Linked DNA regions of Homo sapiens: all the other regions are linked to region 7. Evidence: promoter capture Hi-C in 16 types of primary human blood cells and fetal thymus (Javierre and others, 2016). All regions are on one chromosome and are shown on one strand. Each heading gives the region's core, a stretch centred on a gene start or on the middle of the fragment in contact. The rest is flanking DNA. Distances are from core to core; before and after follow the strand shown.

Evidence for each region. The method cuts DNA at HindIII sites, captures the fragments that hold promoters and counts their contacts. A CHiCAGO score of 5 or more calls a contact.
Region 1: a fragment that was not itself captured here is called in contact with the fragment with the promoter of ORC5 in region 7 in 1 of 17 cell types (naive CD8 T cells); the score reaches 5.1 in naive CD8 T cells.
Region 2: a contact is called between a fragment that was not itself captured here and the fragment with the promoter of ORC5 in region 7, in 2 of 17 cell types (M0 macrophages and M2 macrophages). The highest score is 8.3, in M0 macrophages.
Region 3: a fragment that was not itself captured here is called in contact with the fragment with the promoter of ORC5 in region 7 in 2 of 17 cell types (non-activated CD4 T cells and M2 macrophages); the score reaches 5.8 in non-activated CD4 T cells.
Region 4: a fragment that was not itself captured here is called in contact with the fragment with the promoter of ORC5 in region 7 in 1 of 17 cell types (M2 macrophages); the score reaches 5.5 in M2 macrophages.
Region 5: a fragment that was not itself captured here is called in contact with the fragment with the promoter of ORC5 in region 7 in 1 of 17 cell types (naive CD4 T cells); the score reaches 5.1 in naive CD4 T cells.
Region 6: a fragment that was not itself captured here is called in contact with the fragment with the promoter of ORC5 in region 7 in 1 of 17 cell types (megakaryocytes); the score reaches 5.2 in megakaryocytes.

What each region holds. Positions count from the first base shown.
Region 1 is chr7:104,959,218-104,963,111 of GRCh38, reverse strand. It overlaps LOC101927902 (a long non-coding RNA gene), which reads right to left. Exons shown (of 2, transcript NR_187679.1): 2 at 778-1,128. Among named protein-coding and RNA genes, the nearest start is that of LINC01004, 30 kb to the left of the region's middle. RefSeq lists an enhancer at 1,689-1,758. The HindIII fragment of the contact is 1,381 bases long and covers 984-2,364 here.
Region 2 is chr7:104,977,008-104,981,153 of GRCh38, reverse strand. No RefSeq gene overlaps it. Among named protein-coding and RNA genes, the nearest start is that of LINC01004, 12 kb to the left of the region's middle. The HindIII fragment of the contact is 2,128 bases long and covers 1,805-3,932 here.
Region 3 is chr7:103,309,169-103,313,342 of GRCh38, reverse strand. PMPCB (peptidase, mitochondrial processing subunit beta) reads right to left here. Exons shown (of 13, transcript NM_004279.3): 9 at 2,868-3,028; 10 at 1,615-1,700; 11 at 1,447-1,535; 12 at 1,212-1,287; 13 at 1-1,136. The coding sequence ends at 1,072. DNAJC2 (DnaJ heat shock protein family (Hsp40) member C2) reads left to right here. Exons shown (of 17, transcript NM_014377.3): 16 at 242-396; 17 at 700-1,054. The coding sequence ends at 774. Among named protein-coding and RNA genes, the nearest start is that of PMPCB, 14 kb to the right of the region's middle. The HindIII fragment of the contact is 3,073 bases long and covers 301-3,373 here.
Region 4 is chr7:103,376,863-103,380,795 of GRCh38, reverse strand. SLC26A5 (solute carrier family 26 member 5) reads left to right here. Exons shown (of 20, transcript NM_198999.3): 15 at 247-316; 16 at 1,461-1,553; 17 at 2,243-2,350; 18 at 2,997-3,197. Among named protein-coding and RNA genes, the nearest start is that of PSMC2, 31 kb to the right of the region's middle. RefSeq lists a silencer at 1-196. The HindIII fragment of the contact is 3,745 bases long and covers 274-3,933 here.
Region 5 is chr7:103,360,261-103,364,350 of GRCh38, reverse strand. It overlaps PSMC2 (proteasome 26S subunit, ATPase 2), which reads right to left. Exons shown (of 12, transcript NM_002803.4): 5 at 2,263-2,394; 6 at 1,593-1,665; 7 at 912-1,007; 8 at 44-208. It also overlaps a transcript of SLC26A5 not described here. Among named protein-coding and RNA genes, the nearest start is that of PSMC2, 15 kb to the right of the region's middle. The HindIII fragment of the contact is 799 bases long and covers 2,413-3,211 here.
Region 6 is chr7:103,410,810-103,414,825 of GRCh38, reverse strand. SLC26A5 (solute carrier family 26 member 5) reads left to right here. Exons shown (of 20, transcript NM_198999.3): 5 at 1,714-1,824; 6 at 3,240-3,406. Among named protein-coding and RNA genes, the nearest start is that of SLC26A5-AS1, 32 kb to the left of the region's middle. The HindIII fragment of the contact is 694 bases long and covers 1,140-1,833 here.
Region 7 is chr7:104,205,850-104,209,861 of GRCh38, reverse strand. ORC5 (origin recognition complex subunit 5) reads left to right here and starts at 1,849. Exons shown (of 14, transcript NM_002553.4): 1 at 1,849-2,029. The coding sequence starts at 1,958. RefSeq lists enhancers at 1,671-1,830, 1,881-1,960, 2,001-2,190. The HindIII fragment of the contact is 7,936 bases long and covers 1,333-4,012 here.

The DNA.
Region 1 (3,894 bases), core at 425-2,924, 750 kb before region 7:
AGCAAAGTTTTTCAGTTTCAAAAGCCTGGGCCGGTGGTTCTCAAAGTATGGTCTCCAGACCACATCAGCATCACCTGGATACTCGTTAGAAAGGGAAATTCTTGGGCCCTACCCCAGACCTACTGAATCAGCACCTCTGGGGGTTGGGCTCCACGTTCTGTGTTTTAACAGGCCCTCCAGGTGACTCAGATGTAGGCTGCAGATTGAAAACCACTGGTCTAGATCCTTAGTGAACTGGAGAGAACAAACTGGTAAAAGATTTAGGAGAAAACATCAGGAATAACAGCAAAGCTCCTTACCTAAGTTAGAAAAATATTCTCTAGGCTGAGGGAGGAGGGGAGATAGAAGGGAAGTGATAAGACAGAGAGGTGGTGGGGACAGGAGGAGAGGGCTAGAAGTGAGTGCCAGCCTACATTTTAGTAAGCCCCTTTGCCTATGCCAGACCATTGGGTTAGTTGCCTTCTGGTAGGTGTCTAGTGAGGACTTATGCCTGACAGCAAGCAACAACCAGGACATTGTTTATTGGCTAACAGTCAGAGCAAAATGTTGGGTTTGTGTCCTCCCTATTCCATATGGACAGTCCTTCCTTACAACATCCTGGAATGCTCATTAACTCTTGAGAAGGAAGGTGAGGCCCTGGACCCCTAGTGACCTGATGGTTAGGGAAGGGAGAATAAGCCCTGCACTTGATTTTGGTGGGGATGAACAGAACCAACACAAGATTACCCCTGAGCCAGGGCAAGATAACACTCACCCCAATTATAATGACTACTTGTGTTGGAAATTGGCACTCAGCATTTATTCCAGTCTCCTCCTGGGTTGCCTTTCTGTAACAGTTGAAAGCTTAGAGAGGCTAGAAAGTTTAACTCTGCATTTCCCAGACTCCCTTCAAGTTGTGGATGTGCAGCTCACCATTGCGTTGCAGAAGGCAGAAGGAAGGCAGAGGCTCTTGGCCATCTTTTCTTGGCTTGCTTGGTCAAGCTTCATGTTGGTGGCAGCAGTGGTGGCTCTTCATTCCAACTTCCACATTTCTGGAGCGCAGCAACTTCGGCGTGTTCATGAGCTCAACAGCTCCAGTGACAGCCTCCTGACCCCTCAGCCTGCTAATCTGGGCTGAGGTTGTAGCTTCTGGAGGGAGGGAAATGAGGGTCAGTTCTGTGGCATTCAGGTAGACATTCCAGAAGGCCCCAGCCTACATGCTTATTCCTTCAGTACTTTCAACTATTTCATGAGCACCAACTTCCCTGTATTAATTCCTTCTTTGCTAAAAAACCCAGTCTGGAGCCGGGCGCGGTGGCTGACGCCTGTAATCCCTGCAATTTGGTAGGCTGAGGTGGGTGGATCACCTGAAGTTAGGAGTTCGAGACTAGACTGGCCAATATGGCAAAACCCCGTCTCTACTAAATATACAAAAAAAAATTAGCTGGGTGTGGTAGCGGGCGCCTGTAATCCCAGCTACTCAGGAGGCTGAGGCAGAAGAATGGCTTGAACCCAGGAGGCAGAAGTTACAGTGAGCCAAGATCGCGCCATTCCACTACAGCCTGGGTGACAGAGCAAGACTCCGTCTCAAAAAAAATAAATGAATAAAATAAAATGGTTCCTATTTCTTCCACTAAGGATATACTATTCAAAAAAAAAATCTGTCTTGAAATTTAACTGGAGTGACAGGATGGTTGCACAGAAATGCTTATGATTTCAGAAAATTGGGCCATATGCCAAGGAGCAATAGCAGTACATGCAGTCCATGTGTCAGAGGCTCAGAGGTGAGAGCGCTCACCACCCTGGCCTGGGTTAGGTTTTGGGGCAAGGCAGAACTTGAAGGAAATGTCTTCAAAGAGCAAGCAATGTGCTTTCTGGCTAGTTTTCCTGTTTCAGTTGACTTTGGCCTTGCCTTGCTCCCTGCTTCCTCTTTTCTGCCTCCATACCATCTCTTGTGCAACTCTGCTTACAGGGAACTCCCATCCCTGTCTCTTAAGAACCAAGCAAACCCCTTTTTCTTTTCCTCTTTTATCAGCCTGTCTCTTATTTCAGAATACACATTTCTGTATGCTTCAAAGTAGTTTACAGTTTTCAGTAAGCATGACCATGTTGGCGTTACTTATTTCAGAATGTGAGCCCCTGTTGACTGCCAAGCATTATCCCATGACCATGAGGACTCTCAACAATTGCTACATTATTTGTTAGGGGAGCTTCAAGGTCCAGCTTCCACTGTCTGAAGGAGCTTCAAGAAGCTGAATATGGCAATGTCTGCTGTCCCTACCCAAAAAGTATTTGATTAGCTCTGTCCACAAAGAGCAGAAATTTGAGATGACCCCTTCTGGGCCTGGAGAGCCAGCCTGAGACTAAACCTCCCTAGAAGAAGCTTTCTTTTTTTTTGAGACAGAGTCTTGTTCTGTCACCCAGGCTGGAGTGCAGTGGCATGATCTAGGCTCACTGCAAGCTCTGCTTCCCAGGTTCACACCATTCTCCTGCCTCAGCCTCCCAAGTAGCTGGGACTGCCGGCGCCCGCCACCATGCCCTGCTAATTTTTGTATTTTTAGTAGAGATGGGGTTTTGGCATGTTGGCCAGGTTGGTCTTGAACTCCTGACCTCAGGTGATCCGCCTGCCTCGGCCTCCGAAAGTGTTGGGATTACAGGCGTGAGCCACCGCGCCTGGCCGGAAGAAGCATTTTTAAATTTTCATTATTTTATTTATTTATTTTTGGTTTTTTTGAGATGGAGTCTCGCTCTGTCGCCCAGGCTGGAGTACAGTGGCACCATCTTGGCTCACTGCAAGCTCTGCCTCCCGGGTTCACGCCATTCTCCTGCCTCGGCCTCCCGAGTAGCTGGGACTACCGGCACCTGCCACCACACTCAGCTAATTTTTTTGTATTTTTAGTAGAGACGGGGTTTCACCATCTTAGCCAGGATGGTCTCAATCTCCTGACCTCATGATCCGCCTGCCTCGGCCTCCCAAAGTGCTGGAATTACAGGCGTGAGCCACCGTGCCCAGCCTGGAAGACGCATTTTTTACATCAAATCTCAGACAGGGCAGGAGGGAATTGCTCTGGATTATTATTATTATTATTATTATACTTTAAGTTCTGGGATACATGTGCAGAACGTGCAGGTTTGTTACATAGGTATACATGTGCCATGGTGGTTTGCTGCACCCATCAACCCGTCATCTAGGTTTTAAGCCCCGCATGCATTAGGTATTTCTCCTAATGCTATCCCTCCCCCTGCCCCCTACCCCCCAACAGGCCCTGGTGTATGATGTTCTCCTCCCTGTGTCCATGTGTTCTCATTGTTCAACTCCCACCCATGAGTGATAATATGCAGTATTAGGTTTTCTGTTCCTGTGTTAGTTTGCTGAGAATGATGTTTCTAGCTTCATCCATGTCCCTGCAAAGGACATGAACTCATTCTTTTTTATGGCTGCATAGTATTCCATGGTGTATATGTGCCAGATTTTCTGTATATGTGCCACATGTTCTTTACCCAATCTATCATTGATGGGGATTTGGGTTGGTTCCAAGTCTTTACTATTGTAAATAGTGCTGCAATAAACATACGTGTGCATTTGTCTTCTTTTTTTTGAGATGGAGTCTCGCCCTGTCACCCAGGCTGGAATGCAGTGGTGTGATCTCAGCTCACTGCAACCTCCGCCTCTCAGGTTCAAGCGATTCTCCTGCCCCAGCCTCCTAAGTAACTGGGATTACAGGCTCATGCCACTATGCCCAGCTAATTTTTGTATTTTTAGTAGAGATGAGGTTTCACTATGTTGAAACCTCATAGTTTCAGGCTGGTCTCAAACTCTTGACCTCGTGATCTGCCAGCCTCGGCCTCCCAAAGTGCTGGGATTACAGGCGTGAGCCACCGCACCCAGCCACATGTGTCTTTATAGTAGAATGA
Region 2 (4,146 bases), core at 1,619-4,118, 770 kb before region 7:
CTCGATTAGTGCTAGCTACTCTAACATATAAATAGATCGAGTCAGTACTAACATGATTAAAGACAAGTAATCTTGACTCAGATGTCAGAATCTGCTAGTAGGAAAGTGGAAAATGTTAAAGAGGAACCAAAAAATAAAGAATGAAGGCCTGGGTTTGATACTCATCTTTGGTTCCCTTTTGAGTCAATTGATGCCAATTCTGAAGTCTGGGAACATGTTAAATTCCTTTGCATCCTTCACAGTGCATATAATTGCACACTGTCAACAAATATTTGTGTTAATATTCAAGCTAAATGGTTAGCAAACAAGATGAAGAATGACAGAAAATAATAATTAGTATAAAAATTTGTATTTGGATTCAACTTTCTGTTATTTGAGGCAGAAGCCAAATGCCATTTTTTGGATTGTAGCTTCGGAACAGGCTGTGGACAAGATTTGTGTTACCCGTGTGCAAATGAGCAGCATAATTATACTGTGTGTTTCATATGTTCGCTATGTGACTTTTGTGACTCATTACTGACAACGACAATAGTAGGTTCTAGAATCCTGCCGTCATCCATTCTCACCCATTTTCAGCATTGCATAGGCTATACAGCTAAAATTTACTTCCTCAGACACATTCCAAGAGATACCTTCTCTCCACATAGTCTACATGACCATCTATAGTTCTTTTCCTGCACTGACAGACATAGACTTTGGTACTTAATACCAGTACTTCTTGGGCTCTCCAAGAACCCAGTTGCTTGAGGAAAGCATTGGGTGCTTCTCACCCTGAGTCCCTGGAATCTTTGGTTGGGCCTGTATATAATAAATGTCCCCATTGCTTATTTTTCTTGTGTGCTTTATATTAGACATGTCACAGTGTTGTCTCTCCTTCCCTTCCATTGCCTCAGTGCTAAACCAGACCAATTTTCTCATGAAAGGTACATGATACAGGTAACCATGCATTGTGCCTCTATTAATGCTTATACATTATGCTAAGCATTTTACATCCACTACTTCTTTCACAACCACATCCAGTAATAGAGTATTCCCATTTTCCAGAGGGGAGAATTGCCCTAGTTCACACAGATAAATGGCAGAGCCAGACTTCCAACCCAAGTCTGCCTCTAGAATCTGTGGATTCAACACTGCATCAGAAACTCCAAAGGGAAAATTTTGAGTTGTCTGTCTCCAGAAATTCCTGCAAGGAAAATCATGAAGCTCCCTTTAGGCACTAAGCCATAAGTTCTGAGGCTTCATCCTTTTCAAGAAAACCCACCTACCTAGCCCTGATAATTATTAGAACTGCGATGACTCACATTTACTTGGCACCTCACAGTTTTCAAAGGTTGGCCCATGGGGTATCTCATTTTATTTTCCAGAAAATCTTTTGCGTTCATCATCAACTGAGTGTCCAAGCTGGTGAAGCAAGTTCTTTTCTGGCAGAAGATTGCAGCTCCTATTATTTACCCCCCAGGGGATAAACTGCAAATCCCAGGCCTTACAGCTGGGAACACAGAGCTAGCTGTGCAAGCATATAAAAAACCTTGACAAAGCAGGAGGGGGGTTCACATACTGGCTATCCTCATTACAGTGCATTGGGCAAGGAGCTCTCCCACTGGAAGCTGTATCACAGAACCACAGGCACTGCCTTGGCGGGCAAAACCACATTCAGCAGTTCTTCAATCAGCCAGGGCCTTCCCTGCCCGTGTGCTCATTCATTTATGCTACGCATGTGGTCTCTTATAATTGCTTTTCCTCTCCTTAACTCTCTTTTCATACCCCAGCCCCTACCCCCAACTCCCTCTTGTCCTTAAAAGCTTCTTCCTGCTTTACACCTTAACCTCTTTGTAGGATCCCAGTAAATGCCAAGGCTTGTGGGGGTGGAAGATTATAAATCAAAGCCACAGACACAGACATGGGGGAGGAGCCACCCAGGGGGTGGAAGGGCCACAACTTCAAAACAAATGAGCCTCTTTCATCCCAGTGGGATTTTTGTTTTTTAAGGTCTGCAGTTCCGGTGGGGCATTAAATCAGAAGCTATGGTTTCTGGGATTTATAGGAAGAACAACAACTAGAGAGTTGTCCATATGTGTTCCCTGAGTTTCAGCAAAACTTGGGGGCCTAGAGAAGTCCTGTTATTTTTAAAAAAGTGTCGTTTCTCCGTTAACAAAATAGGTTTCACATTTTAAAAGCAGCTTAAAGCATAGCATCAACCATTCTTCCTCCACAATTGAGAAGTTCCATTAAATGATAGAAGGGGTCAGATTTGAGATATCTGACTAAATATTATTTAAGAAAAGTTAAATTTTGTCAGTTCTCAATTATCTGTGCTAGTGGAGGGGATCCAGGGACAGAATTCCACTGGGACTTTAATTCACTTGTTGATTTGCATTTGGCATTATGAGGCATTTTAGTAATGAACACTTTAATATGGGTGTGCCTGCAGTTCTGGAAATTTACAACTGTTTATAGCAAATAACAAAGCTACTCAGTGAAGATGCTGACAGGGCTGGAATGCTGTCAAATGACTTTTCCAGCCTCTGGACCAACTCTGTTTACTGAGGCCTGGAAACAAAATAGGCTTTGGCTTCAGACAGGAACGTTTAAATCCTTAGACTCACATTATCAAGTAGTTTAGGAAAAAAAAAAAAATCCTGATGCTGCTGTGTAATTTTTCAGATTCTTCATTTGAAAAATGGGAAAAAGAAGTAATATCACGTACCTTGACCATGGTATCAGAGAATGACCTCAGAAGTTGTGAGGGAATTCTCAGACAAAACTTTGAAATATAATCCAGGATTCAATCAGGTATTATTTTAATCTTTAAGTAGTCTTGATGGGTTGCAAACTTTCATGAATAGAGGAGAGCTGCTAAGTACTTGGGTTAAGAGGGCTTGAGACCAACTCCGGTATAAATTGTGACATTCTGTCTATATAGTATAAAGGACGCTCAGCATAACCCAAGAAGGTCACAGACCAGAATCACTGGCTGAAACCTCTGGCAGTGACCAACCTCAACTCAAAAGGTAAGTATATTTTGTGTTCCTAAGAATCCAGAAAGTTCAAAATTTCTATTAAGAAGTTGCTGCTGGCCAGGCACAGGGGCTAACACCTATAATCCCATCTCTACAAAAAATACAAAGAAGCCAGGCATAGTGACAGGCACCTATAGTCCCAGCTACTGGGGAGGCTGAGGCAGGAGGACTGCTTGATCCCAGGAGGCAGAGGTTGCAGTGAACCAAGATTGTGCCACTGCACTCCAGGCCCAGAGCAAGACCCTGCCTTTAAAAAAAGAAAGAAAAAAAAAGTTACTGCTTGCTAGAAGACCTGAGACCTTCCCATAGCCACATGAATGGGTATGGAAGTAAATTTGCCTCCAGGAGAGCCTTCAGATGAAAAGGTGGAAGCCCAACACCTTGATTACAGCCTTGTGAGAGAACCTAAATTAAAGGCACCTAGCTAAGCTGTACCCGAGATTCCTGACCCAAAGAAATTGTGAGATAATAAATGTTGTTTAAAGCTGCTTTTAAAAAAAGAAGTTTCTGCTCTACGGTTTATCTTCAGTCAACTTATTCTGTGTGTTAATACGTGAGCCATTATAACTCTCAATACATTTGAATTTGCACTAAGTGGCAGATGTGGCCTTGAGTTCTCCACACTGCCCAAGAAGCCAGATGGCAAGAAGGCTCATTTAGGCAGCCCTCCTACACAAAACTCTGCACCACATGCACAAATTCTGAATTGTGTCTGTAGGAGGAGGGGGTGGTTAGAATCGGGCAGAAAGAGCCAGAAACCAAGTGCCCAAGCATTCATGATCTGCTGAAAATACCAAGTGAATTTCTGCAGTTTCCTTACCATCCATATTATATAACATGCCCTGGATTAAGGACTCATTCTTCATCACTGAGGTAGAATTGGGTCCTTGTGCCCATAAACAAAAGAAAGCTTGGCTAATGCAATTGTACATTCTTTCCAAAGAACACATTTGTTTTCAGATGAGGAAGTCAGAGCACTGTTGTGCTAAATGTTTAGATCTGGTATTACTTAGGATAGGGGTTGGACAACTGTAACAAACAGATGCCAAAATTGAGTAGCAGTTCAGTAATGTCAGGGGCCTGCTTTCCTTCTCTTGGTGCTGCCACCCTCAATACATGGCTTCTA
Region 3 (4,174 bases), core at 588-3,087, 900 kb after region 7:
TAGATCTTTACTATTGTGTTTTAAAAGCCTTTGAGATTTTATTTTCTGGGATGTGAGCTATCTGAAATTTTTTCTCTTATTAACACTCAGAGGGCTATATGTATCTCTCATCTCTACAAGTTTATTTTCAAAATGACACATCCCAGATTGAAATGGGCACTTAGCGAATACTTGTGGACCACAAGACTTGTCTGAGAACATGTTCAAAGACAGTTTTCAAATAAAAATTTTTCTTAATCAGGTCCATATACAGACTTCACCCCTTGGACAACAGAAGAACAGAAGCTTTTGGAACAAGCTTTGAAAACATACCCAGTAAATACACCTGAAAGATGGGAAAAAATAGCAGAAGCGGTGCCTGGCAGGACAAAGAAGGACTGCATGAAACGATACAAGGTTGCAGACTTAAGCGTTTATAGATTGTTGTATTTTAAATTGTAGCTTGGGTGATATAGCTCATATTTTATGTCTATTAAGTGGTTAATAATATAGTGCTTATTTCAAAACCAGTAGTTATGGGGTCAATATTATGAGGAAGAAATGAGCAACCTTAGAAACTTTCTAGGCCCTGGCAGATAATGAAATCAGTATATTTAGTACTATCTATCTTAGTTGCTTGAATTCTTTACACCAAACACTAGATTAAAATGTCTGTTTTTAAATCGCAACTTCTTAAATCACACCTTTCTCCCTTCCTAGGAACTTGTCGAGATGGTAAAAGCAAAGAAAGCTGCTCAAGAACAAGTGCTGAATGCAAGTAGAGCCAAGAAATGACAATCTTTGTTGTGTGTGCATTTTTATAATAAAACTGAAAATACTGTAAACATTTTCATTCTTAAAATTATACTCATGGTAATAATTTGAAAGTATGCTGCTTCCAACATAATTTCTCAGAGAACAAAGACTGACCATTAATACAAAACAACCTTCAGAGGGGTAGTCTTTTTATCCTTTGAAAGTATGATACAGTATTTAATTCAAATTTCCAAATGTATATACATGTTCATTTTTATTTTTCTCTAGCTCTGTTTTATAAATACATGTGTTCAAACAATCTTGATTAGGAGCATTTTAATCACGAAGCCAACACATGTTACTGCGTATCTGTTTAAAATCTGGTAGTTGCTTAATGGGACCTAAGGATTAAAAAGAAGAGTTAATTAAAAGTACTTGGCCAACTTTTTGCATAGAAGAAAAGAAGCCAGGCTTACCAACAGCAGCAATAGCTGGACTCCTATTATAAATGTATTTGGTACATACTTCTCGAATTGTCTCAGCATTCACAGCCTGAAATATGGAAGACACTGTCATTCAGCTGTTTGTAGTAAAAACAAAGTCTATACCTGGAACTTTTTAAAACTAAAGCAAGATGAAAGATACATATTCTCAGCTTTTGTAACAAGGATCTTTTTACACATGACCCAATAGTAACTCAGGACTACTTACATCAATTCTTGCTTCAAGCTCAGGGATGGGAATCCTTCTATTATAGCATAACATTTGCCTACCAATATCTTCACAAATTGGAGTTGAACCTGTTTAAAGAGAAGGAAAAATTAACTATTGGAATACAGATCAACCATATGAAAACAGAACCTATATCTTTATTTTTACCATCAAGCTGCAACAACATGTTTGTTTTCAGAAGATTTCTGGCTCGTGCAACCTCACTTTCTGTGACACTTGTACAGAGTCGCATCCTAAAAAACGTGGAAAAACAGTAGTAGTTGGAAAATGTTGTATTTCATGAGTTAATGACCTAAGAATGATGATGCCATCTTCTACACAAAACATACAGGTGATTACAATTTAATTCCAATGCTAAGCAAAAGCTAAAATGATTATTTTCCCCAGTATTAATTTCTCAAAAATGATACATAAACATGCCTAATTACACATTAGCAGACAAAGGCTTTATACAAATGGGCTGATCACATTTTCAGAAATGCTATAAGCATCTTGAGACTTCATGAGTCCTCATCTGTTGGAGTCTGATATGCTATGGGTTAAGTCAGTGGGTCATTCATTGGTTTCTGAAAACAATGAGTAGAGTCTAACTTAAATCTAATTTTTAACAATAATTACATCCTAGTTGACTAGATTTAGAAAGATGTAAACCAATTAAGAATAGTGGAGGAAAGGAACCAGAGCTAAATGTTTTCCAAGAAGCTGCGAGCCTTTCTGCCCATCTATCGACTCAATATACTTTGTTTTCTTTTAGCAGTGGCAACTTCAGATTTACTTTCCCTTCAACCAGATTACTTTCAGAGATATTTTCCAAACAACTTCTAGTTGGCTTTTAAACTTTTAGGATCATCTTTCTGAATTAACCTGCTTCTGAAAGATTAAAACTTTCAGCCAGGTGTGGTGGCTCACGCCTGTAATCCCAGCACTTTGGGAGGCTGAGAAGGGTGGATCTCCTGAGGTCAGGAGTTCAGGACTAGCCTGGTCAACATGGTGAAACCCCATCTCTACTAAAAAATACAAAAAATTAGCCAGGCATCGTGGGCATGGTGGTGCGCCTGTAATCCCAGCTATTCGGGAGGCTGAGGTGGGAGAATGGCTTGAACCTGGGAGGCGGAGGCTGCAGTGAGCCGAGATGGCACAACTACACTCCAGCCTGGGCAACAGAGCAAGACCTCATCTCAAAAAAAAAAAAAAAAAAAAATTCTATAGTATAAATCAGCTTCACATCTTGAGACTTAGGAAAAACCAACTGCAACCTTTGAAAACATGGCAACTACTGTTTATCTAGGTCTCTTAATTAAAAGGTAAAATTACCATAAATCACCATAAAGTATAAATAAAAAACTAGTTTAAAACGAATTAAAGGCAAAATTTAAATTACTTAAAGCTATTTTTCTCACCATTCTTTTTGAACAACATGTAGCATGTCTGCAACAGTGGATGATTCACAAACCATATACAGTCCCCATAATCCTGTATCTGTGTAGGAAGTGTTGAAAGACTGAAAGCTATGGCAAAGATTGCCATGACAAGTGAGCTGGGCCAGCTTGCTAGATAAATTCTGCAAGGAAAAAAAAATTCCAAGAGAATTTTAATTATACATGTCCAAAATACAGAAAGAAAAATGGAGTGTGTGGAAAATAGTGAATATCCTTAGAGGCTGTTTCCTAGTTTTATTCAACATCTCAGTAGTAGAGTTAAAATTCAGTATGACTAAGAATTGTGTTTATTATCTCACTTACCCAGTGCACCCCCTGGAGAAATTCATGTTATAAAAGCAATGAGTCCTTATAATTAATGTAGTAGCTATACCTACTTCTAAAACTAGATGGCTATTATCAACCCAATTTCTAGGACTCTTGGCTACATACGCTTAAAGATTCAAAGTTATATTGCATATGAAGCTTAAGATTATTTAGATGAAATGTATTTTGGAGAAATCTATGAGTAAAGACAAATCTATACAATGTGTTTTGAAATAATTCCAACTTACAAAAAAGTTGCAAAAACAGTACAGAGAATTTCATTTATCTAGATTCCCTGTTATTTTACCATGTTTGCTTTATTCTCTTTATACAAGTTTTTTCAACTGAGTTTTAGATGTGATGCTTCTTGCCCCAAATACTTTAGTATGTACTTGTGAAAAACAAGGAAATTAATGTTCTTACATCACCTTGGTATAGTTCCTCAGTATCTGTGGAGAATTGGTTCCCAGATCCCTGTGGATACCAAAATCCACAGATGCTAGAGCCCTCATGTAATATGGTATATGTAATATTTGCATATAAGCACATTCTCCTGTATACTTTAAATCATCTCTAGATAAATACCCAATCCATGTAAATGCTATGTAAATAGTTGTTATACTATATTGTTTAGGAAGTGACCAAAAAAAAAGTCCATACATGTTTAGTACAGATGCAACCATCCATTTGTTCCCCAAAATTTTCCACCTATGGTTGGTTGAATCCACGGATATGGAACCCACAGATATAGAGGGCCTACTGACTATTAAAATTAGGATATTAACATTGACATAGTACTTCTAGCTAATTCTGTCCTTATTCAAATTTTGCCACTAATAAACTTTGTGGCAAAGAAAAAAAGAAACTTTTTCTGGCCCACATGCAATCCAGGATCAGTTTATATTTTTAAGTCAGAATTCACAGTACAAGACTCTATTCTGCCACTTTAAAAAAGGATTCTT
Region 4 (3,933 bases), core at 897-3,396, 830 kb after region 7:
TGTGTGGTATGTATGTGTGTGTGTGGCATGTGATGTGTATGTGGCATGAGGTGTGTGGGGTGTATTAGGCTTGGAATGGCACTGGGAACGTGATATGTGTGGAGCCCTTCTGCAAAGGCACCATGTAAGGATCAAGCATTCCCAAATGCACCAGCAAACCCCAACCTGACATAAACATACACAACCTCCTGTTGAAATCACACGCTGTGCCTCAACACAATGGTATTTAACACTCTTTATCTTCAGTCCAAGCTACAAAGTCCTTGGAAAGCTTCCTGAAACTGATGTGTATATTGATATAGACGCATATGAGGAGGTAGGACCTTTTTCTATCACTTAAAAAGGTTGTAAGCATGTGATGTGCTTGGCTAAGTACTGTTTTTACCCAGGATAAAAAGTAGGGGTAAGATGGGAGGTATAGTGGTCAAAGTGAAAAGTCTGAGCTTTGATCTACTATATGGATTCAATTTTATAATTTATACTATGCATTAACTACTCAATTTCCAATATTTATTTTTCCTCATTTTTAATGGGGATAAATATATATTGTTGAAATTAAAGTATACATTTATACAGTATTGAAACTGAAAGGATGGTTTGTGTGTGCATGGTTTTTTTCTGATGAATGTATAATGGTAAAATAATTTTAACCATGTAAAATGTAGATGGTGGGGCTGTGGAATTCTCCCACTTCATTTGAATGGTTAAAATTACAGCTTCAGATTTCCTTGATTTTGAGTGTTCTTTTCTTCTGTGGAATATCGAAGATTTTTACAAAATCTTTTAAAACTAGTTTTGTCTGTCGGTCTTGTCTTATGCTTGGGAAGAAATTCTCAGACTCACTTTAAGGTATTAGGATATGAGGAAACAAAATTCACTCTAAGGTAAAGGTGTTAGAATTGCTATATTTTTCCTCGATCCAAAGAAGTATATGCAACATTGCTTGTTTCCAGCCTGCCTCCTAGAGTTCCACAAGGGTTCTTGATAAAATATTCACTCAGTTTCACTTGTGTCCATTTAAGCTCCTTCCTGCTTCTGTGAATCAAACCAGTGTAAACTTCTGTTCACTTTATTTGCCTGCCTCTCACAGTCTGGGCAGCAGCCTTCCATCTCCTGTCCATTTTCTTTTCTGTTTTTGAGTATTTTTCAGTTTCTTCTTTGTGTTTAATGGTAAAAATAAAACGAAGACTGACTTTTAAAACAAATGGAAAGATGTGCATGTTAAAAAGGTCTCTGTCAGTTCTCTTCCATTCAGAGCATGAGTAGATAAGAGTGACTTTTTTTTTCTTTTCTTATCTTTTTTTTTTTTTTTGGTCTGTGTGTGACATCATTTTAGCTAAGCCCTGAAAAGGGGACCTTAGCAACTTCTGCATTCATTTTCTATTTGGGGTGGGGAAGCTATGCAGTTTTGATTCTGAAATATTTCCATGTGTTAAATTCAGCAATATTTTACTCTTCAGGTGAAAGAAATTCCTGGAATAAAAATATTTCAAATAAATGCACCAATTTACTATGCAAATAGCGACTTGTATAGCAATGCATTAAAACGAAAGGTGAGTCATGAGAAATTGATTATTTCTGAGGATGGGATTTGTGGGTTGACAGGGATATGAGGATCACTAGTATACCTTTGTATATACTATTTCATTCTCGCTTTGTTTCTCTCTCTTTTATTGTAGTAAAATATACATAACATAAAATATACTATTTTAAGCATTTTCAAAGTATACAGTCCAGTGGGTCGCATTAAGTACATAAACATTGTGCAGCCATCACCATTGTTCATTCTCTCTTATCGTATATATAATATTACTTTTCAAACAAAATTTTAAGAAAACATGAGAAAATAATTTTAGGTTTCTTATTCTTGGGATCATGTAGATTCCTTTGGTCATGTTTAGAACTCAACCCTACACCACGCTGTATATAGGAAAAGCTCCCTGTCAACCCACAGAGTCTCTTAAATATAACAACCTGACAGATCTGAACTTGAAAAAGACTGCTCTAAAAATTGTCTTTAATATTTTAGCTTCTGGTTGTCTTGAATAAAGACTGAGAATAAGAAAGGCTACTAATGTAAGGGAGTAACCAGTTCAGGGCCTCTGAGGGAAAGGCAGTGCAAGGGTTGGGGTGATAATCTGACCCAGAAAGCAGTTAAATGGGGAGATTTGAAGGGGAGTGGCATTGGGGTGGGTCCCTGAGAGCCATGAAGTGATTTTGCATATGGTGCTCTTCTGTAAAGACTGGAGTGAACCCAGCAGTCATCATGGGAGCAAGGAGAAAGGCCATGCGGAAGTACGCTAAGGAAGTCGGAAATGCAAATATGGCCAACGCAACTGTTGTCAAAGCAGTGAGTGGTCTTTTCATTGAAATAATCCGTTCTGTCTTGTTCTGCAATGCCCTCCATCTTTACTCATGACTGAAGTTTAAACACAGCACGAAGTTACTAAAAGAGGAAAGTTTAGAAACCACCTTAGTATCCTCTATATTTTACAAGCACCTGATAAGGTCAGTTATGAGGCTGTTTCTGAAAAAAGTAAGGAAAACATCATTTTAAAAAATAAAAATTACACAATACCTTAACAGATTTTACCATTAGCACTTTGTCATAGATTTATTCAGCTGATAGTTTAAAAAGCTCAAAGGTGGCTTTTGCTGTTCAGGCATGCTAATGTGTGACCCATCATACTAAAGTTAATGGAACTATTTTAGACTTTAGCAGAAAATGGATAGGATAACTGAGGAGAGTGGATTTTGTTGGACAAGAAAAAAAAGGAGGAGAAGGAAAAAGAGAGAAGTTGACTTAAAATGGAATGTTATACATACATCCTTTTTTTGTTCAGTTACAAGGCTAGAATATGACAAATATTTTACAAGGGGTCTGGTAGAGTCAGTAGCTTAAGAACACAAGAGCAGATTTTCCATTATAAATCTTTCTCACAACCAGAAATGTGAGTTGTTCATAAAATTCTGGTTTGGTTTAATTTTTGACACAGGATGCAGAAGTAGATGGAGAGGATGCTACCAAGCCTGAAGAAGAGGATGGTGAAGTAAAATATCCCCCAATAGTGATCAAAAGCACATTTCCTGAGGAAATGCAAAGATTTATGCCCCCAGGGGATAACGTCCACACTGTCATTTTGGATTTCACTCAAGTCAATTTTATTGATTCTGTTGGAGTGAAAACTCTGGCAGGGGTAAGCATCCTCTTGAACGAGTCATTTAATACCTCTATGCCTGGTGTCGTACTATCAGCATAATCAGGGAGGTGGGCTAGGCTCTCTTTTCAACAAAAGATTTATCCCCTTTTGATTATGGAAAATTTCAAAAATATATAGAAGTAAAGATTTTAGTATATTGAACCCCCGTGAACTATCACTCAGCTTCAACAATGATCAATTTATGGTCAATCTGGTTTCCTTTATAGCTGACATTCACTTTCTCTTGTTTTATTTTGAAACACATCCCAGTCATAACATCATCTGTAAATATTTTAATGTGTATTGCTACAAGAAGATTCGTTTTAGAAAACATTACTGTAATATGCTAGGCTACTCAGGAGGCTGAAGCAGGAGGATTGCTGAGCTCAGGAGTTCAAGACCAGCATGAGTAAACTAGTGAGATGCTGTCTCTAAAAAAAATCGTTTTTTATTTTGAAATTATAATATCCTTTAAGTTAATATAATAGTTTTATTGTACTTAAGTAAGATTTAACAGTATTTTTGCTACCCCTAATTATCACTGTCCACATAAAAAGCAAAAGAGATACAAAATTATTTTTAACTGATTAGCTCAAAAATACATCATTATTGAAGCAAAGTAGCTCAAGTGAATGAATTAGAGTGTCTTCTATCACGAAAAACATTGGTAAAAAGAGACTTTCATCTGGCACAGAGTAAAGAGAAACTAAATTTTATTTCAACATTATTACAG
Region 5 (4,090 bases), core at 1,563-4,062, 850 kb after region 7:
AATCTTTCACAAGGCTATATATTCTTTGATAAATTTACTTTACCTCACCGACGTATTTCTGTACAAGCTCAGATCCAATAACTCGAATGAAGCACGCATCAGTCCGATTAGCAACTGCCCGCGCACAGAGTGTCTTGCCTGTACCGGGTGGACCAAAGAGCAGCACGCCCTTGGGAGGCTCAATGCCAAGGTTCACAAACCTCTCTGGCTGTGATAGAGACACAATTTTCACACTTACCACTTCTGTATAACAAAAATCAGACTACTTCTAAATCAACAAAGTGCTTTTATGTTTAGTATTTTATCCTGAAAACCATACTTTAATATTTAAATCAAAATTATTAAGTCCACAATATACATACTTGAACTAAATAAGAAATTTTACTTATTCTAAGACATAAGTTCTAAACTGGACTTCTATCAATACATAAGACTAAATGGCTTTTAAAAAGCACTTCCATTATCCAGTCTTAAAATATTTTCCTAATTTAAAAAAAATTATGGTGTTTAAGGAACAAAATTATCTGGTATTCAGTATCCTAGTTTTCCATTATCCTCCCAAGTTTAACCTGCTTCAATTTAAGCCCCTTTCTTCTCGATGTCTTTTGAAGAACCAGTTTCTTCTATAATAGCCTGTAACATATTTAACATATTGCTAAAGGTTACACTGTGCCTCCTCTGTCACTGTAAACAGCAGATCTTTCTTTTTTAAATATACCTGACCACTCAATCCTTTTTGCTTGCTCTCCCCTAGAACTTACCAACTCTCCACACCTCCTCTCTCCACCCTCTCAAAAAACTCTCATTAGGGAAAATATTAAAAGCCATCTAATATACAAGCAATTTTAGTGCTCAATACACAAAAGACATCTTTATACAAAGAAATTTAAATACAACACTCAGCTACTTACATGAAGTAATGGGGTTTCAACTACTTCTCGCAGTTTCTCAATCTGTTCCTTACAGCCACCAACATCACTGTATGTGACATCAGGTTTCTCTTCCACCTAAGAGAGGGACAGAAATGTACAACATACAGTCACAGGCTTTTTGGATACTGTCCAAATTCAATAGAATAGACCTAATACCTTAAAAGAAAAACTCACAAGTGAGAATTTTAATAAAAATTGAATACATTGCCCAGTGCCCTGGAACTACTTGCTGTATTAACTTGTTATGACACTAATGAATGAAAAACAAACTAGTAAAATAAAGACAGGCTGAGACTCTGTCTCAAAAAATATATATATAAAATACTGCCGGGCTCAGTGGCTCACGCCTGGAATCCCAGCACTTTGGGAGGCTGAGGCAGGCCAAACACTTGAGGTCATGAGTTCGAAACCAGTCTGGCCAACATGGTGAAACACCGTCTCTACTAAAAATACAAAAATTAGCTGGGCGTGGTGGCGGGTGCCTGTAATCCCAGCTACTCGGGAGGCTGAGGCAGGAGAATTGCTTGAACCCGGGAGGCAGAGGTTGCAGTGAGCCAAGATCACACCATTCTACTCCAGCCTGGACAAGAGTGAAACTCCGCCTCAAAAAAAAAAAAAAAAAAAGACATAGCCTTCCTTTTCCCTCCCATAGTTTCTTACCTGCATCATGGTAACTGTTGGGTCAATCTTAGGAGGCAATGGAATGTGAATTTGATATTTATTTCTATCCACGCTAAGGAAGTAAAAAAGATAGTCATTAATACATTCTTTAAGCTTTCAAAGTGCTTTTATGTTTAGTCCTTTATCCCCAAAACCATACTTTAAGAAAACAAGAGAGAGACAGAGTCCCTAATTATATAAAGAGAAATAAAGAGAGCATGAAATCTGAGGATACTAAACTACATGTCTAATGTCGCAAACAACCTATCCAACAGCAATCAAACCTTTGAGGAGGGAGGGGAGATTTTTTTTTAATTTACTAAGTGAGTTGTTATGTATTCTATAGACATTAACACACTTAGCATCACAACTATCCTAAAGCAAGTACTCCCCCAACCTATACCATGTTACCTTAAATGGACTGGTAACCTCAACTCTGAAATTTGAAGCCATTCATAATAAACAACAGTGGGAGTAGGGGAGTCAGCGAAGCCGATGGGAAGTTAGGAAGCAGATGCAGAAGACAGAATTTTCAACTATAGTACATTACTAGATCATCCTTTGGTATTCCAAGGAACTCAGTCCATTTATTCACTACAAAGCCAAGGATATGAATGTGAGACAGTATCCTTAGTGAAAGAAAAGTATTTATTGTAAATAGAAATCTTACCCCACTCTCATCCCTTCTTCAATGTCAGTAGGTGCCACCTGATCACTAAGGTCCACCACAAACTTGGCAAACTGCTTTACGTTGATAATGTATTTTGGGTCCTCCGAATCAGCATTGATTATCTTTGTACACCTAACACAGCAAAAAGCTTGATTAGAATAAGGAACCTAAGCCACTAATAATGAATTCAACTAACTAGATTATATCCTGAGTGTGCAATATACAGGTATAAACTAGAACTACAGAAACTGGGACACTGTTAAAGATCCTTTTCTATACCCAACTCCAAAGGTCCATTCGACTTTAGCCAAGTCATAAAATTTTCAAATACATTCTCCTGGAAAATTAAACCCAAATATCTCATCATTAAGAAGTTCTCTGATTTCTTGATTTCCATAGTTTGTATTCCTTTATTATTAGTGATGCTCCTGTATATCTTAAGTTGCTCTCGTTTTTATTTTCCCTACAAAAAGATGGTCATCTTGTCTTACACCAAATTCAGTAATAAATGGGTTTTCATTCTTTTCCTGAGTTTATACTTTAAATCCGTTTTTCTTTTTTTTTTTTTTTTTTTTTTTGAGATGGAGTTTCACTCTTGTTGCCCAGGCTGAAACACAATGGTGTGATCTTGGCTCACTGCAACCTCCACCTCTTGGGTTCATGCAATTCTCCTGCCTCAGCCTCCCGAGTAGCTGGGATTACAGGCATGCACCACCATGCCTAGCTAATTTTGTATTTTTTTTTTTTTTTTTAGTAGAGAGGGGGTTTCTCTTGAACTCCCAACCTCAGGCTAGTCAGGCTGGTCTCGAAATCCCAACCTCAGGTGATCCGCCCGCCTCAGCTTCCCAAAGTGCTGGGATTACAGGCGTGAGCCACCACACCCGGACTTTAAATCCATTTTTATTGTTTTTGCTACTTTTTTCTTTTTTTAACTGAGGCAGTAGAAGCTTGTTTTTTTTTCTTTTTCTTTTTTTTGAGACAGAGTCTTGCTCTGGAGCCCAGACTGGAGTGCAGTGGTGCGATCTCGGCTCATTACAATCTCCGCCTCCTGGGTTCAAGCAGTTCTCCTGCCTCAGCCTCCCAAGTAGCTGGCATTACAGGAATGCGCCAGCACGCCCGGCTAATTGTTTTGTATTTTTAATATATACGGGGTTTCACCATGTTGGCCAGGCTGGTTTCAAACTCCCGACCTCAAGTGATCCACCTGCTTCGGCCTCCCAAAGTGCTGGGATTACAGGCGTGAGCCATTGCACCCGGCCAGTAGAAGCTATTTTTAACTTAATTATATTCATTTCCATATGGCCTGGTAAAAATGAATTTATAATGCCATGCACATCACAGTATAAAATAGTCAACCGCCTTTCCCCTTCTATAGTATCTATCTACTAAAGAAAAACAAAAACAAAAAACAGAACTCACATTAGAAAGCTGCTACATAAGCCACAGCAAGAATTACAGAGAAATACAAAAATAGCCTGTGGAGTGCGCACATAGGTAGAGCTAAAAGTAAGGTACAGAATGCTTTGGCTTAGCCAGGTGTGGTGGGATGCACCTGTAGTCCCAGCTACTGAGGAGGCTGAGGCTGGAGGATCACTTGAGCCCAGGAGGTCAAGGCTAAAAAAGAATGCTTTGTCCTGATAGCATAATTGTGTGAAGGACTCTGTTTTCTGTTACCAACCATGTTTGCTAGGGAAGAAGAATTATACCCATTCTCTACCAAAAAAAAAGAGGCTGACCAAAAAACCTGAAAGGAAAAACAAGAACAACAAACAGCAATAATACCAAACCCTGGGGAAAGGAAGAATTTGATTTCCAGAGGTGACACATT
Region 6 (4,016 bases), core at 237-2,736, 790 kb after region 7:
CCCCTGGAGTTTGTGAAGACTGCTGCCTAATTCTTGCATGAAAAAGTCCAGCTGCTCTAAAAACTAGTTTTTAAAAAACTTTCAAGTGAACCTGCACATGGATGTTTATAGCAGCTTTATTCATAATTGCCAAACCTTGGAAGCAATCAAGATGGCCTTCAGTAGATGAATGGATAAACTGTGGTACATCCAAACAATGAAATATTCAATATTAAAAAGGAATGAGCTATCAAGCCATGAAAAGACATGAAGGAACCTTAAATGCTTATTACTTAGTGAAAGAAGTCAGCCTGGTGTAGCTTAATACTGTATGATCCCAACTGAATGACATTCTAAAAAAGGCCAAACTGGCCAGGCACAGTGACTTATGCCTGTAATCCCAGCACTTTGGGAGGCTGAGGTGGGCAGATCGCCTGAGCCTAGGAGTTCAAGACCAGCCTGGGAAACATGGGGAAACTCTGTCTCTACAAAAATTAGCCAGGTGTGATGGTACACACCTGTAGTCCCAACTACTAGGGAGGCTGAGGTGGGAGGATTGCTTGAGCCCGGGAGGTTGTGGCTGCATTGAGCCATGAACATGCCCCTGTACTCCAGCCTGGGTGACAGAGCAAGACCCTGTCTTAAAAAAAAAAAAAGGGGGGGGCAAAACTTCAAAGACAGTAAAAATATCATTAGTGTCCAGGGGATGGGGGGAGGGAAGTATGAATAGAGCACAGAGAATTTCTGAGCAGTGAAACTACTTTATATCACACTATCATGATGGCTACCTGTCATTGTACATTTGCATAGACTGTACCACACCAAGAGTAAACCTCATGTAAACTATGGACTTTGGGTGATAGTGATAGGTCAATGTAGGTTCATCACTTGTAACAGATGTGCCACTCTGGTGGGGGATGTTGATAGTGGGGGATGTTGATAGTGGGGGAGGCTGTGCATACATAAGGGCAGGGAATGTATGGAAAACCTCTGTATCTTTTGCTCAATTTGCTGTGAACCTAAACTGCTCTAAAAATTCTATTTAAAAAAAAATGTCTAAAGGATGATGTGAACTGCCTAGGACCGCAGAGTGAGGGAAAGAGTCCCCTAGAGGGTGTGACCTGCACTTCCAAAGTTTCTTGGGAGTAAAATGTCAAGCTTTCCCATTGAGTAACTGGAAGGTAATGAGACTTGGCCCATTTGATAGGTACCTGCCTAAGAAGACTGCCTACAGGATGAGCATACACCAGCCAAAAGAACGTGGAAGGCTGTACCTTCTGATAAGAGTCGGAGGAGGGATATCTAAGAGTCAGGAGGAGGGAGCATTACATAGGTTAGGGCATAGTAACTGAGAGTCCCTTATTGCAAAGGGGTCTCCAGAGAACCCACAAAAACACCCCATTGGAGAACGAGCTCGCATTTGTGAGTCAACACCAAATTACAATGACAACCACTAAGATAAGACTTTTTTCTGCTTTTATCTAATTTGTGAAAGAATAAAGCAGAAAAAAAAATCACCCACTGGCAAAAAGGAGATGACAATGCAAAGTTTCTCAGCTTGGACTCTATCAGCACCAAGGTAAGATGATGTGCAGGACTGGGGTAGGGCAGGTTGCAGCTTAAATTAAGATGGGCTTCACTCGTTCATCAGAAATAAAGAACCAAGAGAAAAACACATGTAACACCTCTGTCTTCTAATGATCCCCCATTTCTGTTTGGTTTTTAATCCCACAGGCTTAGCCTTTGCAATGCTGGCAGCTGTGCCTCCAATATTTGGCCTGTACTCTTCATTTTACCCTGTTATCATGTATTGTTTTCTTGGAACCTCCAGACACATATCCATAGGTAAAAGCTTACATTTGATATTCTATTACCTTTCCTTGTGTATTTCCAACCTTGCAATGTGCCAAAGAAATAGCATGGTCATTATTAAAAATTGTCTTAATAACAACTTTTGTTACTGCATACACAATAGGTGCTTTAAAAACCTACACTCGGCCAGGTGCGGTGGCTCATCCCTGTAATCCCAGCACTCTGGGAGGCCGAGGCGGGCAGATCGTCTGAGGTCAGTAGTTCGAGACCAGCCAGACCAACATAGTGAAACCCCATCTCTTTGTAAAAATACAAAAATTTGCCAGGCTTGGTGAGGGGTGACTGTAATCCCAGCTACTCAGGAGGCTGAGGCAGGAGAATCGCTTCAACCTGGGAGGCAGAGATTGCAGTGAGCTGAGATCACACCACTGCACTCCAACCTGGGCAACAGAACGAGACTCTGTCTCAAAAAAAAAAAAAACAAAAAAAAAACTACACTCCTCCCAAGATTTCTAGAACTTACAATTTTCTTATAATCTTGGGATAATAAAAAAGACAATTTTCTTGTGTAAAAGGGCAATTGTTGAAATCTGTGAAATGAGATAAATGCTTGATTTCATAATGTAATTTGCCAGCTTCTGGTTTTTATTTTTATACTAATGGTAGTACTTCAAGTTCCTAATCGCTATGCATGTATTTCATTTTTGTCATATTTTGGGCTCTGAATTGTACATATTTTCAGTTTATCAGGGGCATATGGATTTCATAATAGTTCTGGTGCTGCATAAGGCTACTACCTAACACACACATACTTTCCAGATATCTACTGTTTGGTAACAAATACCCCCAAAATGTAGCAGCTTTACAACAACAATCATGTTTGTATCTTCCATAGTGCCTGCAGTTCAGGACTTGGGAAGGGCTGGTCTGGGTAATTCTTCCTCTCTCCCTTTTTCCTCCCTCCCTTCCCTCTTCCCTGCCTTCCTTTCTCCATGCAGTCCCAGGAATTCTCCACTTGGCCTAGTTGGAGCTTTCTTACACATGGTGACTTAGGGCTTCAGCAGAAGGTGGAAACTGCAGCCCTTTTATTACCTAGCCTGAGAAGTCACACAACGTCACTTCTGCTGCATTCTTTTGATTACTAACAAGTCAAAGCCAAGCCAGATTCAAGGAGAGAGAAATTAGACTCCACCTCTTGATGGGGAAATGTCAAGAAGACTCTGTGGATGGAAGATATTGCTATGTCTATTTTTGGAAAATACAGTCTGCATGCGCACACACGCACACACACGGTTGCTCATACACCAGGGGCAGGACACTAAAGAAGGGAGCGTAGCCTTCCTTCAAGCATGATTTCTTGACCTCACCTTTGTCTCTTGGTGTACTGGCAAAAACCATATCAGATACTCTGAACCCTGAACAGGGATCTTCATGCTTCATTATTTCAGGTCCTTTTGCTGTTATTAGCCTGATGATTGGTGGTGTAGCTGTTCGATTAGTACCAGATGATATAGTCATTCCAGGAGGAGTAAATGCAACCAATGGCACAGAGGCCAGAGATGCCTTGAGAGTGAAAGTCGCCATGTCTGTGACCTTACTTTCAGGAATCATTCAGGTAAGGCTCAAAGATGGGGAAATGGACTGTCTCGTTTGTTAACCTAACAAGTATCTACTGAGTGCTCTTGGCTGGTCTTACTACACGGTGGATGGGGTCAGCCAGAAAAACCCCAGAGCTCTGGGAGTAACTGCAGACCAACTGCATGCCATATTCACAACTATGAGTGACGAGCAAGCAAGCTTCAGGTGGGTGTTTTAAAGATCCCAAAAGCAAGACAAGTTTGACACGGCAGGATTGGTTAGTGCTGGGAGAGGACATTCCTCTCTGCTTGGAAGAAACAGCCAGTGATCATGATCATGCACTTTAGTCTACATGATGAAGCATGCCCCCAGCTCAATGAGAGACAGGGAAGGCATTAGTGTGGTCAGCGCACTGTGGGGCACCAAGCCACTCCAGACCTTCCATTGTTTTCTGTATAACCAGTGGTTGATTTTCTAGCTACTTACCCACTTGAGGTACAAGTTTGCAGTGTTAGAAAATGGTCCAGAGGCTGGGCGCGGTGGCTCACACCTTTAATCCCAGCACTTTGGGAGGCTGAGGCAGGCGAATCACAAGGTCAGGAGTTCGAGACCACCCTGGGCAACATAGTGAAACCCCGTGTCTACTA
Region 7 (4,012 bases), core at 600-3,099:
CTGTCTGGCACTCCGTAGTGAGATGAACCCAGTACCGCAGATGGAAATGCAGAAATCACCCGTCTTCTGCATCACTCATGCTGGGAACTGTAGACCAGAGCTGTTCCTATTCGGCCATCTTGGCTGCCTATCGAGGCCATTATTATTCACTGTTTGGGAGACTGCAATAGTCGTTTCAACAAATGAAATTGATTCCACTTTCCACACTGTAGCCAGAAGGAATATTTCTAAGTCAAATCTCAACATTTGCTTCTCTGCCTACAATTCTTTATTGGTCCCCAGCCTGACCTCCTACTACTCTCCAGGTTTATATGTAAAAACTATTTGCTAGTTTCAGTTATGGGATTGCCCATTTGTCCCTTTTTGTCTGTACATTCTTTTGTTTACAATTTCCTTCTTGGTCTCACAGGTGAATCTTTTCTTCAGCCTCAGCTTCCAGGTTCTCTCCTCTGAGAAACCATCCTAAATCATCCAGATGGTAAGGCATGTTCTCTCAGATCAACAATTATCTTTATTATGTAACTGCCAGGCGTTAACTGTGTATGCTGGAAATTGAACTGTGAAGACAGTGTTTCCTGTCCTCATAAAGTATATAGAGAGGGAGACTAACATTTTAGACAGTTTAGTCAGTTTTATTGAATGCTATAAAGATGTCGTGTTATGATTATAATATATGTATACCTTATATGCACAGTATGTTACGGACGTATAACCATCTTAGGAGAGTATCAGAGGCCAGCTTCCCTTGGAGACATTGAAATTTAATGGGTGGTCCCATTATAACCTTTAGAATTCTCTATTAAAAAGTACCTGGGCAAATGCTTTTGAATTGTTGCTGTGAAAATACTATTTTGACTAGCTAATACGTTATATACCACAACTCTCAAAAGATCCTTTTGACCATCACAAATCTAAGACTGATCTACAATCTATGGGCAGATTGAAGTCCACAATTTAAATTTATGTATAACAGGTAGTATGTACAGGATCTTCTACTCCTAGCAATAACCTAGCCAGTATTATCCCTATTTTATAGATAAGGAAGTTGAGGCTCAACTATTCCAAAGTCCCCCTATTCAGCAGTTGAGTCAGTCAGTGGTCCCAACCCAGGGGTTTCAGGACGCCAAGCTCTCTTTCCACCATGCACTTGCCTACTTCTGTATCTTATTTCCAGAATCTTCTAGTGTTTAGTCGCTAGTAGGTGCCTCACAAATAAATACACGTGAAAGCCTAATGCTAAAAGTAGCATTATTTTTACTATCAACCTCACCAACACACACTACGACTTCATCCCATTAGGACTGAGAGGCTTTCCACATCTGGTTTAAAGCTTGCACAAAAAATAGTAATTCCAAGCTGTGCATTAAACCCCATTACACCCTGTTTTGTACTCAATGCCACTAATTTCCCACAACGTCGTCAGGGAAAAAAACGACAACAAAAACATCTTTTGACAATATTAGTCTTCTAAGTCCGCCTTCCACGTCCCTCTAAGGGCCCCAGCTCCGGGTCCGTCTTCTTAGGCACTCAAGGTTTCTAAACTTGGGGCTTCCAGCCGGTAAAACTAAAGGCACGGGGTTCAGGGGTCATTGGAGGCCCACGGGACCCCCTTAACCCCTTCCACCCCTTCCCTATTCGCCCATCTCCATGTCGTCTCCTTAGCCTTTGAGTGGAAAAAGCGTCAGCCCGAAATCCCCACCAAGCCCAAGAATGGGCAAAACCTCGGCGCGCACAGGACCAGCGAGAAGAGGATGGTTCCGGCCCTGAGACTAGAGCGGCGGCGACGCTCGGCGTACGCGCTGCCGTCACGCCGCAGCCCGGCAGCGCAGGCTCCTCCCACGACGCTGCGGGTCCGGTTTCCGGCGGGAGCGTGGGCCGCCAGACTCGGGAGAGGCTCCGTCTTGTGCAAGGGTCCTGTGGGCTGGCTGCACTGGCCTCTGCGGTGGTGCCTGCCAGAATGCCCCACTTGGAAAACGTGGTGCTTTGTCGCGAGTCTCAAGTGTCCATCTTGCAGTCCTTGTTTGGAGAGGTATTGTAGTTAAACTGTCTTCCAGATCCTGGAGGCAGACGTTTCGGTAGTCTTGCGACCTGTTCCAATATTTGTTTTTTCGTGTTTGGATTGAGGGCCAAAAGGCCGTTTTTACGTTAAATAGGGGTGTTGTGGTTCTGTACTGCAGCTTCACCCACAGTCTCTTCCGAATATTGAAGAGGAGACAGTCTGAGAGCGACCGGCCTGCACTATAGGACGTTGCCTAAGACGTATTTGAAACACGCCACACTTTTCAGAAGTTTGCCCACATTAGCTCCTAGAAGTTGCTTGTTATCTTACCCCAACCCAATGACATTTATGTAACAGATGTGTTTGCAGGGTGTTATTTATTCAAATGTAAGTTCACACGTTTCTGTGCGGTAGTTGGAGTGAGTCAAGTGTAGAGAGGTGGTTGCTTTCAAGGCCACTAAGGGCCAAAGCAGTGCTTCAGGTTTAAAAATTTACTGGCTTTTCCAGAATTGTAACAGTCCAGAAGAGGTCTAGGGTAAACTTTTCTCCTTAACTGATAGTTCACAGGATGCCCTAGAGAGGAGTTTGTCTTGTCTGGATGAACATAGATACGTAGGGAGTCCTTTCAATAGGCAGAGGGTAGCGTTCACCAATTCAAAATTTAACCTATTTTTGACTATTTTCTGGTGGTCTTTGATGTGCTTTTTGATTCAGACTCAATCAGAATTGGAATTAATCAAACTTGGATCTTACCTGCGAAGAGAGTGAATGAGAATTCAGGGTCATACTCATACCCCCATCTTCTGGTTTGCTTTTTTAAGTACAGTCATGCGTTGCTGCCACTTAGTGAGGGGGATACGTCCTGAGAAATGCATCGTTAGGCAATTTAATCCCTGTGAATATCAGAAAGTGTATTTACACAAACCTAGATGGTGTAGCCTGCTATACACCTAGGCTGTATGGTGTAGCCTGTTCCTCCTAGGCTATAAACCTCTACAGCGGTGCTACTATACTGAATACTGTAGGCAGTTGTAACACAGTGATAAGTCTGCATCTAAAAGTGTCTAAACATAGAAAAGGTACAGTGAAAATAGGGTATTATAATCTTATGAGATCACTGTTGTATATGTGGTCCATCTTTGAATGTACACGTGACTGTACTTTCATCCAACTAGAAATATTGCATGGCAATTTGAGGTGGCCTGTGAAGCATTAGTGGAAAAGTACTACCCTCTGTCTAAAGGGGTGCATTATTTAGGGAAGTTAGAGGTCAACAACTGCATCTTCAATTAATTTTCTATTTATACTGCTTTCAATTATAGTTATATTATTACTGGAGCATTTTCTTGATTATGTTCTCTGCATTTCATCTATGGAACGCAGATCACTCCAGCCAGAAATGTTCCTGCTGAAAGAGCAAATTGGCAAATAGGGATGAGTAAACTTAGTGGTGGATCACAGAAGAGTTTTTGACCTTTGCTTTTAATGAAAATTATGTTTAACAATATTTTAATATCAGTTTTCTGCAAGGTGCTGTGCATGTGGGAAATACAAACAACTATAGCAAAGAAATATAAAAAATTGGTTCATGTTTCTAAGAATACTCATTTATTTGTTCAATAAATAAATATTTACCGAGCACCTTTTCTGTGTCAGGTACTAGCTTATTGCAGTTTATGTTAGCGAGATTTATGAAGGTGAAAGGTTAAATAACAGTGGAACAGTTCAATATAATTCTAGGTCACAATAGAAAAGATGTTTAAGGTATTATTAGGCAACAACATGTAATGGATAGCAGAGATACTCAGCAACATGCATTTAATTCTTGAGACAGAATTTTTTGTTTTTGTTTTTTGAGACAGGGTTTGGCTTTCTTTCCCAGGCTGGAGTGCAGTGGCATGATCTTGGCTCACTGCAGTCTCTGCCTCCCAGGCTCAAGCAGTCCGCCCACCTCAGCCTCCGAGTAGCTGGGACCACAGGTGTTTGCCTCCAAGCCTGGCTATTTTTGTGTTT